5 separate regions of the Homo sapiens genome follow, and all the other regions are linked to region 1. Evidence: promoter capture Hi-C in 16 types of primary human blood cells and fetal thymus (Javierre and others, 2016). All regions are on one chromosome and are shown on one strand. The core of a region is centred on a gene start or on the middle of the fragment in contact, and the rest is flanking DNA. Distances in the headings are between cores, read along the strand shown.

Region 1 (2,522 bases), core at 16-2,515:
TTTTGCTTCAGCCAACATCCCAGTGCTGAGCACAAAGGCAGCATTCACTAAATACTTGCTCATTGGAAGAGATATACATATATCTTCCATTAAATGATAGATATATATTTAATGTACTATTTTACATTCACCCAAGAAGTAAACCAATCCTATGTTGAAGTTTTGTATGTTATCTCTGACTTGTTTGTAAGTTTTTGCCTTCACATGCTGACTTTTGTAAAAAAAAAAAGTCGAATTTTGTAGACTTCATATTTTCAAAGCATTTGCACAGCCATTATAGTATTAAAGACACTCTTAGTGGGTAAAAAGATAGATCTTATTCCCAGTCAAGAAATGGAAAAAACTGGCACTGGTGGCTAAGGAATTGTTCTAAATGACAGAACCAGTGTATTTTAATATACAGAAAAATGTCCAAGAGGCTTTATCTAAACTGAGATCTACTGACTCCTTTTCCATTGTTTTTTCCACTATACCAATCTCTTAGGCAAAAAAGACTATATCTGTAAAGTATACGCAGGAAAAACTATTTTAATTAACTAAAATAGTACAAATGAGTCTATTTCTTTTTATTCTGGGTACAGAGTAGGCACTTGATGACTGGATTAAAAACAGCACATGATATATCAATTGCAGTTCCTGGTTTACAGTTTTAAGTAATCGAGAGTGAGTTATTTAAACTGCTCTTTTTGATAAACATATTTTAAAGAGGGCTTTTTCTCCCAATGAAAATGTAAGAACAAGTTTCATTATTTTTAAGACAATTTCAATTTGGGGCCTAGCACATCATGCTTGAGAGCTGGTTTTTTCCTTATGCAAATGGATCCTTTCTCTAAACTGGTGCAAACCACACTTTGCCTGCCAAACTTATGACTCAAAGGCCCTGAAGGGTTTCTGTAGCCTCCCAGCCACAGCCCAGAAACCATAAGCTGTTTCCACGTGAAACATCCAAACACGGTCTCCCAAGCCTAAGTCTGCTACCATCAAGGCTTCTGTATAAAAGGCAAATGAGGAGGCAGCGCCCCCTTCTGCTCCCACCCCCTTCTGCTCCCACCCCCTTCATGTCAGCAGCAGCCAATCGCTTTTCTCTGTCGTGCAGTCGGCTCCTGGGATTGGCCAGGGACGGGACAGGCGCGGAACCACTGCGCGCACAGGCGGAGCGCGGAGACTTGTCCGTCACGTGCGGCCGCCCGGCCTCTCGGCCTTGCCGCGCGCCTGGCGGGGTTGGGGGGGCGGGGACCAAGATCTGCTGCGCCTGCGTTGTGGGCGTTCTCGGGGAGCTGCTGCCGTAGCTGCCGCCGCCGCTACCACCGCGTTCGGGTGTAGAATTTGGAATCCCTGCGCCGCGTTAACAATGAAGCAGAGTTCGAACGTGCCGGCTTTCCTCAGCAAGCTGTGGACGCTTGTGGAGGAAACCCACACTAACGAGTTCATCACCTGGAGCCAGGTACGGTCAGGCCACGGCGGCCTCTGAACCCCCTGAATAACCGCCTCCTCACTCGCTCTCCTGCGGGGTGGTCTCTCGCGGCCTTGCGGCTCGACGCTGTCTGCGAGGCCCGCGGTGCGGGGCCTTGGCGTTCAGCCTCGCGGGGGACCCCCTGTATTGTTCGCTCGGGGAGCCGCGGGGGCCCGGCCGGCAGCGCCGCTCTCCTCAGGCCGCGGTGGGGGAGGGGCGGCCCGCGCGGGGCGTAGCGGCCCAGGCAGCCCCTTAACGGTCCGGTCCGCGTTCGGAACCGGCCCGGCGTCGCGAGGGGAATCGGCGAGCCGAGGGCGCGGGAGCCTCTTTACTGCACACTCATCCTCCGTCCTCCCGCCCGGCTCAGGGGTTACAAATCGCGGAGGGGACAGGGAGCCCAGGGCCAGGATCATCAACGTGGGGCTTTATAGGAGGCGATCTTTACCTCAGCGACCGATCACCCCCAGTTCCCCCAACATTGCTTTGCATCTGGCATCTTTATGTGGAGAGCAGTCAGGGCAATAGACATACGTTCAAACGCAGGTTACTGCTTATCAGTTGGTTTTAAAAATATATAGAAATTAACAAATTATTCTTTTGAGATTCTGTGCTATTTGTATAATGGGATTATTAGGATTGTTTTAATAAAGTACTAATAGGTGGTAACTTAGTAGTTACTAAATTTCGCTGAACAGTTACCAGCAGAGGGGCATATCGATGTGTTGATTATTGGTTTGATCTCAACTCTGCTTCTAAACAAGCATGACCTTAGTCCAGCCCTTTATCTTGTCTGGCCTAAGTTAAATCTTTCATAAGATGGATGGGTTGCCTAGGTGACCCAAGACCTATATCAGTCCCAAATACAAGATTTTAGGCAGAATGATTATTTACATCCACAGTGCATGTGCATTAGAATACACTCCTAGGCTGTTGGAATCATTTTTATGAAGGAAAGTGGTTAACTCTTATTGTAGATGATCACCTATTGAGGCATATTTTCATATGTGTAGTTCTTGAGAAGAATAAGTGAAAACTACCTGCATAGTGCCTGGCACCTGTTAAGTGCTGA
Region 2 (2,522 bases), core at 12-2,511, 3.4 Mb after region 1:
TCACCGCTACTTCCTTCTTGAAGCTCTCTTATCCTTTTATTACTACCTCTCTGACTACTCTTCCTTTTTTTTTTTTTTTTTTTTTTTTTTGAGACAGAGTCTCTCTGTCGCCCAGGCTGGAGGTCAGTGGTGCGATCTTCTTGGCTCACTGCAAGCTCCGCCTCCCACGTTCACGCCATTATCCTGCCTCAGCCTCCCAAGTAGCTGGGACTACAGGCGCCCACCACCACAAGGGCTATGTATTTTTTTTAGTAGAGACGGGGTTTCACCGTGTTAGCCAGGATGGTCTCGATCTCCTGACCTCATGATCCTCCCGTTTCGGCCTCCCAAAGTGCTGGGATTACAGGCGTGAGCCACCGCGCCCGGCCCCTCTCTGACTACTCTTTCACCATTTTCTACCTCTTCCCCTTCTTCTTTAATGTATACTCTCCTGGGTTTTTTCCTTGGTCCTCTCTCCTTTTTATAGGTTTTTTCTTTGGGAAGAGCTCAAATCTTCTCAAACTTTTAAGTTAATGGCTCCAAAATCTCTCCCTTCTACCCTAATTATCACCAAAATTCCCATTCTGTATTTCCAACCACATTTAGTTGTGCTGCCTCTGTGGGGCTCAAACTGAACTTACCTTCTCTTCTTCATCAGTTTCTCCATCTCAACCTTCCTATTACTTTTAATGCCACCCCAGTTTTACTAGCCACACAGAACAAATCAAGGATTCATAACTGATTCCTCCCTATTCTTAACCCTTTATATCCTATCAGACATCGAGTCCTCTTGGGTTCCCTTCGTAATTTCTTGACTTGTCTTAAGGTCTTCCATAATCTAGCTGCAGTCACCTATCTGCCCTCATCTCCACTGTTCCCCAGCGCAGGTTCCCTACTACAGCCAGTCTGACACAGTTAGTCCTTTTCGTTGCAAATACTAGACCATGGTCATCCTGGATCCCTTAGAAGCAATGTCCATTCTCCTTTTCTCAGGCATTCCGGATACTTCTAGCCTTTAGGTCCAGCTTGAAAAACAGTTTTCAAGCTCTATTTTGATTCTAGTGCTCACTTCCTTCTCCCTTCTTTTACCATATATCGTGATTATTTGAAGTACTTGATATGCAGCAAATAATCAATGAATGGTGCCAATTATTTTTGTTAATGGTGGCAACATATTTTTGTCTTAATTATCCAATGAAGTGAAAGCTTCTTAAGCACCAAAAATCACATCTTTTCTTAACCCCATGGCACCTATCACAATGGACTTCCTGGAACATTAAGTACTCAGCATTCTCCTCTTCCCAATCAGTCTCAGCACAGCTAAAAGGAGAGCAAAACAAACTCATTTTAGTTGCAATCAAGCTTTCAGTCTGTTTCTATGCTATGATGAAATTTCTCCTTAAAAAAAAAAGGCGGGGCCGGGCGCGGTGGCTCACGCCTGTAATCCCAGCACTTTGGGAGGCCAAGACAGGAGGATCACGAGGTCAGGAGATCGAGATCATCCTGGCTAACACGGTGAAGCCCCGTCTCTACAAAAAATACAAAAAAAAAATAGCCGGGCCTGGTGGCGGGCGCCTGTAGTCCCAGCTACTCGGGAGGCTGAGGCATGAGAATGGCATGAACCCGGGAGGCGGAGCTTGCAGTGAGCCAAGATCGCGCCACTGCACTCCAGCCTGGGCGACAGAGAGAGACTCCGTCTCAAATTAAAAAAAAAAAAAAAAAAATCCAACAGCTCAGTAAGTGGCAAAGGTTAGGATGGTTTAGAACTTTCAGGATCAAAAAAACCCTTAATGTCTATATAACACTATTTTTCTTTTTTTGACTCCAACATTGCCATATTTTCCTTTGAGGAACTCCCAGAATTCTACTTTACCCTGAATGTGGGAATTACTAATGATAAGTAGGTGCATTTTTGAGGGGCCTATATGGTTTATATAGTGGGAATTGATACTCTGGATGTAACACATTTACCATATTTGTGTAAATCTCTTAGAGAAAATTTAAAGTTAGCCAAAAAAACATTAACTAAATGGGTTATTAAAACACAATAAACTAGCTATGTCCAACCATACATCTCAGAAAAGATCTCATATTTATAGAGATGAGAGTAGGAATAGCTCCAATATAGGCAAATAATCTCCAAAGTACATAATCTTAATGTACAGAAAAACTAAAAATTAACTCTAAGCATGATACTGAATAAGTATTATTCCTCATAAAACTATCTTCCTCTTTTATTAGTCAAACAAAATCAAGGTTAAACAAAGGCTTAACTGACTGCTTGTAAACACATCCAAATTATTTTTAAAAACTGAAAAATACAATTTTAGAATCACAGAACTTTATGTTATTTGATTGATTATAAATTACATTACCTGTAAATAGAGATGGCGTATTTTAAGCCTTAGATTAAATAAACTTTTAAAACGGTCAATTTTTAATGATTAAAAAACCCCAACAAGCGAATGAAAAGTACATAAAACTTATGATTTAAAAAGAAAAAAAAAACTATAAAGAAAAAAAAAAACTATGAAAAAAAAACC
Region 3 (2,522 bases), core at 9-2,508, 3.3 Mb before region 1:
AACCACTCCACTATGACTAAAAGATTACATCCAAGCCACTGCATAACAGCATGGCAAAGCTACAATGTAACAAAGAAAAAGAGATGCTGCATTTGGCATGTACTAGTGCTAAGGTGAAACACAGCCAATTGCTATGTTTTATGAGGCCACTTACCATTCTTGTTCAAAGACTCAAGTCATAAGCAATATAGAATTATTATGAAAGAGTATCTAGATAATTCAAACAAACCAATTAGTGAAAAATCATTTATTTCATGTACAGAAAATAGTATTATTTGAAAAATTCACTGGTTTTGGTGTTATATAAACACATTCTGGTTTTGGATATAGTAAAAGCAGAGTTAGTATAAAATGACTGATCACAAGGCTTTTTTATATTTGCTAAGAAACTAGTATATTAATTACCTACATTCTGAAGTGTCAAATACTTATAATGTAGACAAAGAACATTATATTTGTATTTTTTACATCAAAAATACATTAAGAAATAAAATAGCTTTTTGAAGCAGTTTAAAGGGCAGTCAATAAACATTTACATATTTAGGAATAATTTAACTCAGCTGAAATGATCTATCATTAACCCAGAAGAGTAGCAGATACAATTCCTAAAAAGTACTGTCTTTCTCTGCTGTATAACAAAATTACTTGCTGTATCATTATGACCACCATCTTCTTCAGTAAATACTTATTAAGCTTTGGTACTATGTGCAAACCATTCATATTAAGGTTACATGTAATAAAAGATACAGTCCCTAGAGCTGAGAACCTTACAGTCAAATTATGAAAACAAAGTATATTTATAAACACAATAAACAGTATTTGCAAGTTTGCATTATTAAGTATCAAGTAAGAGGTACCAACAATCAATGCTAACGCACAGCAAGGAAAGCCCAACAAGGGTAGCTGGTCAGGACAGTTTTAGTAGAAGAGCCATAAGCTGGGTATTAAATAAGAGGACTTGATGCTAAGCACAGAAAACACAAAATAAACTACTTCCTGCTGTTTGGGAACTTACACTGTACCATATATTACTTATGTCTATACTAGTTAAGTGATAAACAGACTCTGTATCAAAAGTGCAATCAACTAAAGAGGGATTTGATAAGCAGCTAACATAACAAGGTATTAAAAGGGAAGTTTCTGCTGAGAACCAGAGACGATAGAAATGACATTCCAAAGCAGCTGCCAGAACATTCTCGAAAATGTCAAGAGGCAGTCTAAAGAAGAGTGCTGAGATGTGTTACTTTCCACCCCCACCACTAGTGAGGTGGTGCTTCAAGAAGATTACAGAGTAGGTTTCAGAGATTTCCCTGGGGAGAGCTGTGGTAACAGGGGCCTGTGTCTTCAAGGGGGAAGGGTGGAAGATGCTTGTCCCACACCTAAAGCCTAGGGAAAAAGGCTTTGAGGGAATGACTTGAAGAACTTGACATGTGCCTCAAGCACTTTGAAGAACATGCTAACCTGGTACCTGATTAATCCCCAGAAAATCTAAATGATGAGAAGCTGCATGAAGAGGCATGTGAGAACAAGAGAGAGGGCTGAACTGGGACCACTAGCAGAGTTTGTGCAAAGAATGAGTGCTCCCTATGTGGCCTCTACGGAAGAGTGAACAACCTGGGGTGGGATCACACAAGTCCATGCAAGAGGGGTATCTAGAGTTTGCACAGACCTCAGCAAAGTGGAGGTGAAGGTACTGCTAGCTCCAAGAGGCTGAGGAAGGAGTAAGCAACCAATCAGCGCATAAGGGAATTCTCACTGTCAAGGAATTGAGGTGAAAATCTAGAGCCACTGAGGTGGGAGGTAGAAGATTCACCAGTGAAAGAATAAGCTTTAAACATCTGCAACGGCTACAAAAGCACTGAAACTAGATCACCAGCTAGCTTCTTCACTAATCAAGTAAAAGTTTGCTGCTCCTCTTTACTCTTTTCACTTCTTCCTTGACCAACTTTGGAAGGGTGAGAAACCAGAACTGGCAAGACAAAGCAGGAAGAGTAGAAAAACCAGGTAAGAAGTAAAAAGGCAATAATACCCCCTTCCCTAGTTACTGGTTTCCCCCTTGCAAGAGACAGAGCAAGAGACCAGTTAAGGGAGAAGCTTCATCTTTATTTCAGGCTTGGTCTGCAGTTTTTACTTGTTGGTACTGGGCATTTTAATTTTAATAATCAAATTGAGACTTTTGTGACTTTGTTACTGAAGGATGATTTGTATTATCTAAAAGCAACCAGAAAAATTAAGTTAACCCATGAAAGAGGATGAACCAGTCTCAAAGAGTAAATTGAAAGAGACAAAAAGGGAAAAAAAGTAATTTGAAAGTGACAAAAAAAAAGCTTTTATAATTACATCCCACAAGGCCTGCTTTTCAACCTGATATCCTGAAAAGTCAACACAGTGGAGAGCACAGAAGTATACAAATGTGGTCTTATAAAACATAATTGAATCCATCCAGCTTCACTGCCTATCTTGAGATAGTTCAGCCATTAACATTTGCAGAAACTTGCCATAATGTAGCTCAAGAATCTAAT
Region 4 (2,522 bases), core at 17-2,516, 3.1 Mb before region 1:
ATTTTAAAAAGCTTGGGAAAAGAGACCCAAATATCCTCGTGCCCAACAAAGAATATCTTTCCTTTTATTAGTTGGTTTTTATTAAACAATTCCTGCCTTGAAGTCTAACATGAAATACTTTAAAAGTTAAAAATTATATCATAGATTAAAAGCTTTCTATTGTTTTAGGTTGAATCATAAGAACTTAAGTGTACCTCGTATGTTAAGACTAAAACAGCCAAAATGTTCTTCTGAAAATCTTTAAGAGTATAATGTTCCAATAAAAGGAAGTAAACTTTTAGAACATTAGTTGGTGTTCTGTTTCCAAATCTAATCCTCCAGGCATAAACTACATTTAAGGAGCAGATTAAAACCACCCAAGAACAAATTATTAATTCAGTTTTCCATTTCACTCTTGAATTCTTGTCTTAAATGCACTAGGAATCTCTGCTGCCAATGTAGTTAAAGCTGCAGCAGCTCTAATAATCAACGGATATTATCACAAAGGGTGGATACATCCTAAAATGAAAGCACCATATGCCTAATTATTGAGCTAAATTTACACATGTAGTTATCTCTGAATGAAACATTTTCAGCTTTTCAGCTCACAAAAATTATTTCTTTCTATGCCCTGAAGGTATTTCTCCAGATTTCTTTATCCCTGGCTTTCTTTCCTCCCCACATATCTGAGTGTTGTGTGACAGCAGGCCCAGAAGTCAGAAGTAACTGGACACTGATGAATGAATGAGGAACCACTCCATTCAACACCCTCTCTATGGTTTTCCTGAGGATGAGCATCCCTTCTGTGTAATAACAATTCTAACAAGGCAAAATAATGCTTACTTTCCTGCCATAGGAAGTGAGAAATTTGGCAACAACAACTAAAAGGGGAGGCAACAATAGAAAATAGAAGCTATTGGTCAATACAGCAATACTGCAGCCAAAACATACTTTTCTTTCCTGGAAATGACTTTCTGAATCCAATTTACCTACCAACCCCTTTCCTTATCACTCCTACCAATTCCTAGCTGCTAGTAAGTACATACTATGTATTGAATAATGAATGATACATGCCAGGCATTGCGCTGAGAGATTCACATACATTTTCTATTTTAATTCTTACAACAACTCTGAAAAAGAGGAATTATTAACTCCATTTCAAAGGCGTGGAAAGGGAGGACAGAAGTGTTTCTACTCTGCCATACTGCCTCACATTTATAAAACATTTTGTTGATATACTTAATCTGGGTTACATTTAGGATGAATTGCCTTTTATTGTCAAATTCTGGGCCACGGACCTATGAGATAAAAAAGGTGTCCCCACTTCTAGGGTGTCTGAAATCTACTTGAAAGATAACATATATGCACACAAAATCAGTGACACACAGGCCAAAGATAGAAATAATCAATAACATGGGAATTTGGAGAAGGGAGAAATCAGTGAAGGTTGAGAGTGTAGAGAGGGCTTCATGAGGACATGGATTTTGAGCAAGTGAGAAGACTCTCCTTTTGAGAACCATAAAGTAAACAAGGTGAAATCCTAAACGACATGTGTTCTGGAGATAGTAACTATGTAAGTTTTGTGGAAGCACAGTCCTTCCTGGGAAGTAACAGAGATACAACTCAACAAATAAACTGATGCAGATTTACAGAAGACTACGGATGCCAAGCTAAACATTTGTGACTTCACTGTGACTTCATTCTAGAGCAAAATGTTTTTCTAGCTGAAGTCACTGGACCAGAAGCATCAGTATCACCTAGCAACATGCTAAAAATGCAAATTCTGGGGCCCACCCAGGCCTACTGAATCAGAAACTCCAGGCTTTCAAAATTTTTTTATTATTATTTTTTTTGAGACAGAGTCTCACTCTGTCACCCAGGCTGGAGTGCAGTGGCACAATCTCGGTTCACTGCAACCTCCGCCTCCTGGGTTCAAGTGATTCTTCTGCCTCAGCCTCCCGAGTAGCTGGGACTACAGGCTCACGCCACCACACCTGGCTAGTTTTTGTATTTTTCGTAGAGACAGGGTTTTACCACGTTGGCCAGGCTGGTCTTGAATTCCTGGCCTCAAGTGATCCTCCCTTCGGCCTCCCAAAGTGCTGGGATTACAGGTGTGAGCCACTGCGCCCGGCACCAGCAATCTGTTTTAACATGCCCTCCAGGTGATTCTGATGCATGTTGAAGTCTGAATCATTACTTTATAGGAAATGGAGGACCATTAAAACCTGAGTTGGGCAATACGAGAGAAGTGATGTTTTAGGAATATTAATAGTCATCTGTAGAATAAACTGCAAAAGGGACCACTGACAAATGCATAAAATTCATTGAGCCTCTACCATGCAATTATTTATATGACACAGCACTTTTCAGGAGAAACAATATGAAATTGGGAAATAGAAAACCAAGCTTCTTTCTCTTTCTCAAAATATCACACCTTCTTAGGGAGGAACATGTTTATGTAATTCTGATTTCTCTAGTGGAAAATAATAGCTAACCTATGACTTTTCATTTTAGTGTGGTACTGTAAGCATTACTCATTAAGA
Region 5 (2,522 bases), core at 17-2,516, 3.0 Mb before region 1:
CCTGGTAGCAGTGAAACCCCAAGTCCCTCGGTTAGGGGAGCCGTGACCCTGGGAGCTTTTGAGCTCTCTGGTATAACATCCTTTTACATCCTAAGAGACACAGTTCTGTGCTTGCTTAGGACTTTTTTCGTATGCGCCCTTTCTTCCCCCAAAAAACAAAAAACCGAAAAAACTTGTATGTCTCTCCCGCCCACCCGTACTTTCACTATTCATTTACCTCATAGAAGTTGGTCAAATTTTCCATTCGAAGACGAGTTTTATGCTGCGGTAGCTTCAAGCAATAAGTCGAACACTGTGTTGAAATTAAGTCTTGGATCCGACTACTTCCAGCGAAGTGAGGAGTTGGTCCAATAGAAATTATTTTCCAAAATGTGTTGTAATTCTCCTGTTGCTCCACAAATAAGGGGTTATCAGAGAGGAAAACGTTGACTGACTTCGCATTTCTGAAAGCTGGTTTGTAGTCGCCTTATTTCATCCTTACCCTTCTCTGGAAATGTGACATTAGTTCTGTTTGTGCTTAAGACAAAGGAAACAGCTGGCACCTTTCGGGAAGGTGGCTCCAGTACAGTTGTTTCCAGGTGTTAAGCTGTATGAGAAAGTAGAAAAGTAATCAGAAATCCTTACTAGTTTTCATTTAATCATTTAATTATTAATTTTAACCATCATTATTTGTCGTCTACTTGTTTTGTGTAAAATGAGTAATACACTCAAAGTTCTTGTTAATAGGAAATTATTGTTTGATAAAGCTGGCTTTATGGCTTGGTTATTTTGATACCTGCTATGAAATTCTATGTCCAGAAGAGTGCAGCATATCCAAGCAGGGTAATAAGTTCAGAAGGACTGAAAAAGAAAACAAAGATGATTTTTCTTTAATGATGGAAAGGCAATTTTTATTTCAAACGATTATGCATTTGTAGGTTGTGCATAGGCTGAAAGGTTTGAATCACTGTGAAATAATGTTTCTAACAACATCCTTAAAACTGAGTTACCTCTTGAATGGATAGATAAATAGGAACTGGGTTAACTACCCCAAACGCTAATCTCTTTATGATCATCCTTTTTTGGAATGATTTATTATTTTAAAAATTATGTTGTAAGAATGGAATTATAGCCCCGGAAATATTTAGAAGCTTTATTTCAAATTAATGTTATTAAGTATTCCAGCAAAACAATAAATTCCACTTTTAAGTATATGTTAAAATGGTGATAAATAAAAGTTATAACTTAATTCTATTTCTGACACTTTAATTTTGATACCAAATCAGTTTGGGCATTTAACTTCTGTAGTGGAAATATTAAAAATTTAGTACGTGGGTTTAAGGATTTTTTCCCCTAAAAACTTTAAATTTATCTATGTTGTTTCTACATCTTTTAAAGTAACTATTCTTTTTAAGTTCATCATGAAGCTTATTTTAAGATTTTTTTCTTATTTTCCGTATTTCTTAAATGACAGGGTTATACTTGCAGCCTGGCTTTGATAATATGTTAAACAAGAAGTTAACATGGGTGGTTGATTATAGGTACATATTAAAGGGTGTCTGTGTACATTAGGTGGGATAAGAACTATATAGGAACACCAATATTTGGGCCAGAGCAAATTTGAAAAATTCACAAAGAAGGTATCTGAAGAGGCATAGCAATCGAATTATGCATCCTCTTTAAAATAATCACATGAAGCCCTGTGTGCTCATGGTAAGGGAGGAGTAGAAAATAGTCAACAAGTAAAATTGTGCATTTTGTAGAAGCAAAATCGGACACTTTCCTCTGATTTCAGTACTACAAAGCACTTGACATTCTACCATTGAAAAAAGTACTTTGTACCCTGAGATAAAAATAAAGGTGATTGGTTCTTGTCTTTTAAGTAATGAAACCTTGACTTTGTCCCCTAAGTCAAGACTCCCTAGCCACATCTACCTGAAGGTAATGTCACCATCTTTATGAATGCAATGATAGTGCTGAAATTGCTGTTTCTCATTATGGATGGTCTAATGTAAACCTAAGAACCTTAGTAATTTTGTGGGATTTTTAAAAAAATACTTGCTATGTTTTTTTATTTGGCCAGCCAGTCCTTTTGAAGTATAACTCTCTTGTAATTTTTGCAGGTTTGCTTGCAAACTTAATTCTTACATTTTCCTTTTTCAATACTTAATGTTTTTGTGTATTTCTTTGATAATTTGTAAATTTTTGTGTTTCAAGATTATATCTTTGAATCAAGTAATTTTTTAAAAACCTGATCATCAGTGATACCACAAAACACTACAAAGAAATCCCCAAATAAATGTTGTTGCTTAGATTTTTCTACTTTCAAAAGAAATTACCAAAAGGTAGATTTAATTTTTACATTAACATGCCTAAAATGAAATATAGTAATAATTATGAGCAGACTTACAGAGGAAAAATTGGCAATATTTTTATAAAACTGATAAATTTATATTTTTATAAAATTATAAGTTCTCAAAAATTGAAGTGCAAAAACATTTCTTAGGAAGTTTCTAGGCAGTACTAGTTAGAAGTTTGTGGAA

The links. The method cuts DNA at HindIII sites, captures the fragments that hold promoters and counts their contacts. A CHiCAGO score of 5 or more calls a contact.
Region 2: a contact is called between a fragment that was not itself captured here and the fragment with the promoter of HSF2 in region 1, in 3 of 17 cell types (total CD4 T cells, non-activated CD4 T cells and activated CD4 T cells). The highest score is 10.6, in total CD4 T cells.
Region 3: a fragment that was not itself captured here is called in contact with the fragment with the promoter of HSF2 in region 1 in 2 of 17 cell types (naive CD4 T cells and activated CD4 T cells); the score reaches 9.1 in naive CD4 T cells.
Region 4: a contact is called between a fragment that was not itself captured here and the fragment with the promoter of HSF2 in region 1, in 3 of 17 cell types (naive B cells, total CD4 T cells and non-activated CD4 T cells). The highest score is 12.4, in naive B cells.
Region 5: a fragment that was not itself captured here is called in contact with the fragment with the promoter of HSF2 in region 1 in 5 of 17 cell types (total CD8 T cells, activated CD4 T cells, total CD4 T cells and 2 more); the score reaches 12.4 in total CD8 T cells.

What each region holds. Positions count from the first base shown.
Region 1 is chr6:122,398,387-122,400,908 of GRCh38, forward strand. It overlaps HSF2 (heat shock transcription factor 2), which reads left to right and starts at 1,266. Exons shown (of 13, transcript NM_004506.4): 1 at 1,266-1,444. The coding sequence starts at 1,352. RefSeq lists silencers at 1,002-1,321, 1,592-1,711 and an enhancer at 1,562-2,061. The HindIII fragment of the contact is 3,471 bases long and covers 1-2,522 here.
Region 2 is chr6:125,777,647-125,780,168 of GRCh38, forward strand. No RefSeq gene overlaps it. Among named protein-coding and RNA genes, the nearest start is that of TRE-CTC1-7, 1.4 kb to the right of the region's middle. The HindIII fragment of the contact is 156 bases long and covers 1,184-1,339 here.
Region 3 is chr6:119,072,287-119,074,808 of GRCh38, forward strand. All of the region lies in intron 1 of FAM184A (family with sequence similarity 184 member A), which reads right to left. Among named protein-coding and RNA genes, the nearest start is that of MIR548B, 4.4 kb to the left of the region's middle. The HindIII fragment of the contact is 1,135 bases long and covers 692-1,826 here.
Region 4 is chr6:119,334,256-119,336,777 of GRCh38, forward strand. All of the region lies in intron 2 of MAN1A1 (mannosidase alpha class 1A member 1), which reads right to left. Among named protein-coding and RNA genes, the nearest start is that of MAN1A1, 14 kb to the right of the region's middle. The HindIII fragment of the contact is 2,233 bases long and covers 151-2,383 here.
Region 5 is chr6:119,350,310-119,352,831 of GRCh38, forward strand. It overlaps a transcript of MAN1A1 not described here. Among named protein-coding and RNA genes, the nearest start is that of MAN1A1, 1.8 kb to the left of the region's middle. RefSeq lists a silencer at 1-12. The HindIII fragment of the contact is 276 bases long and covers 1,129-1,404 here.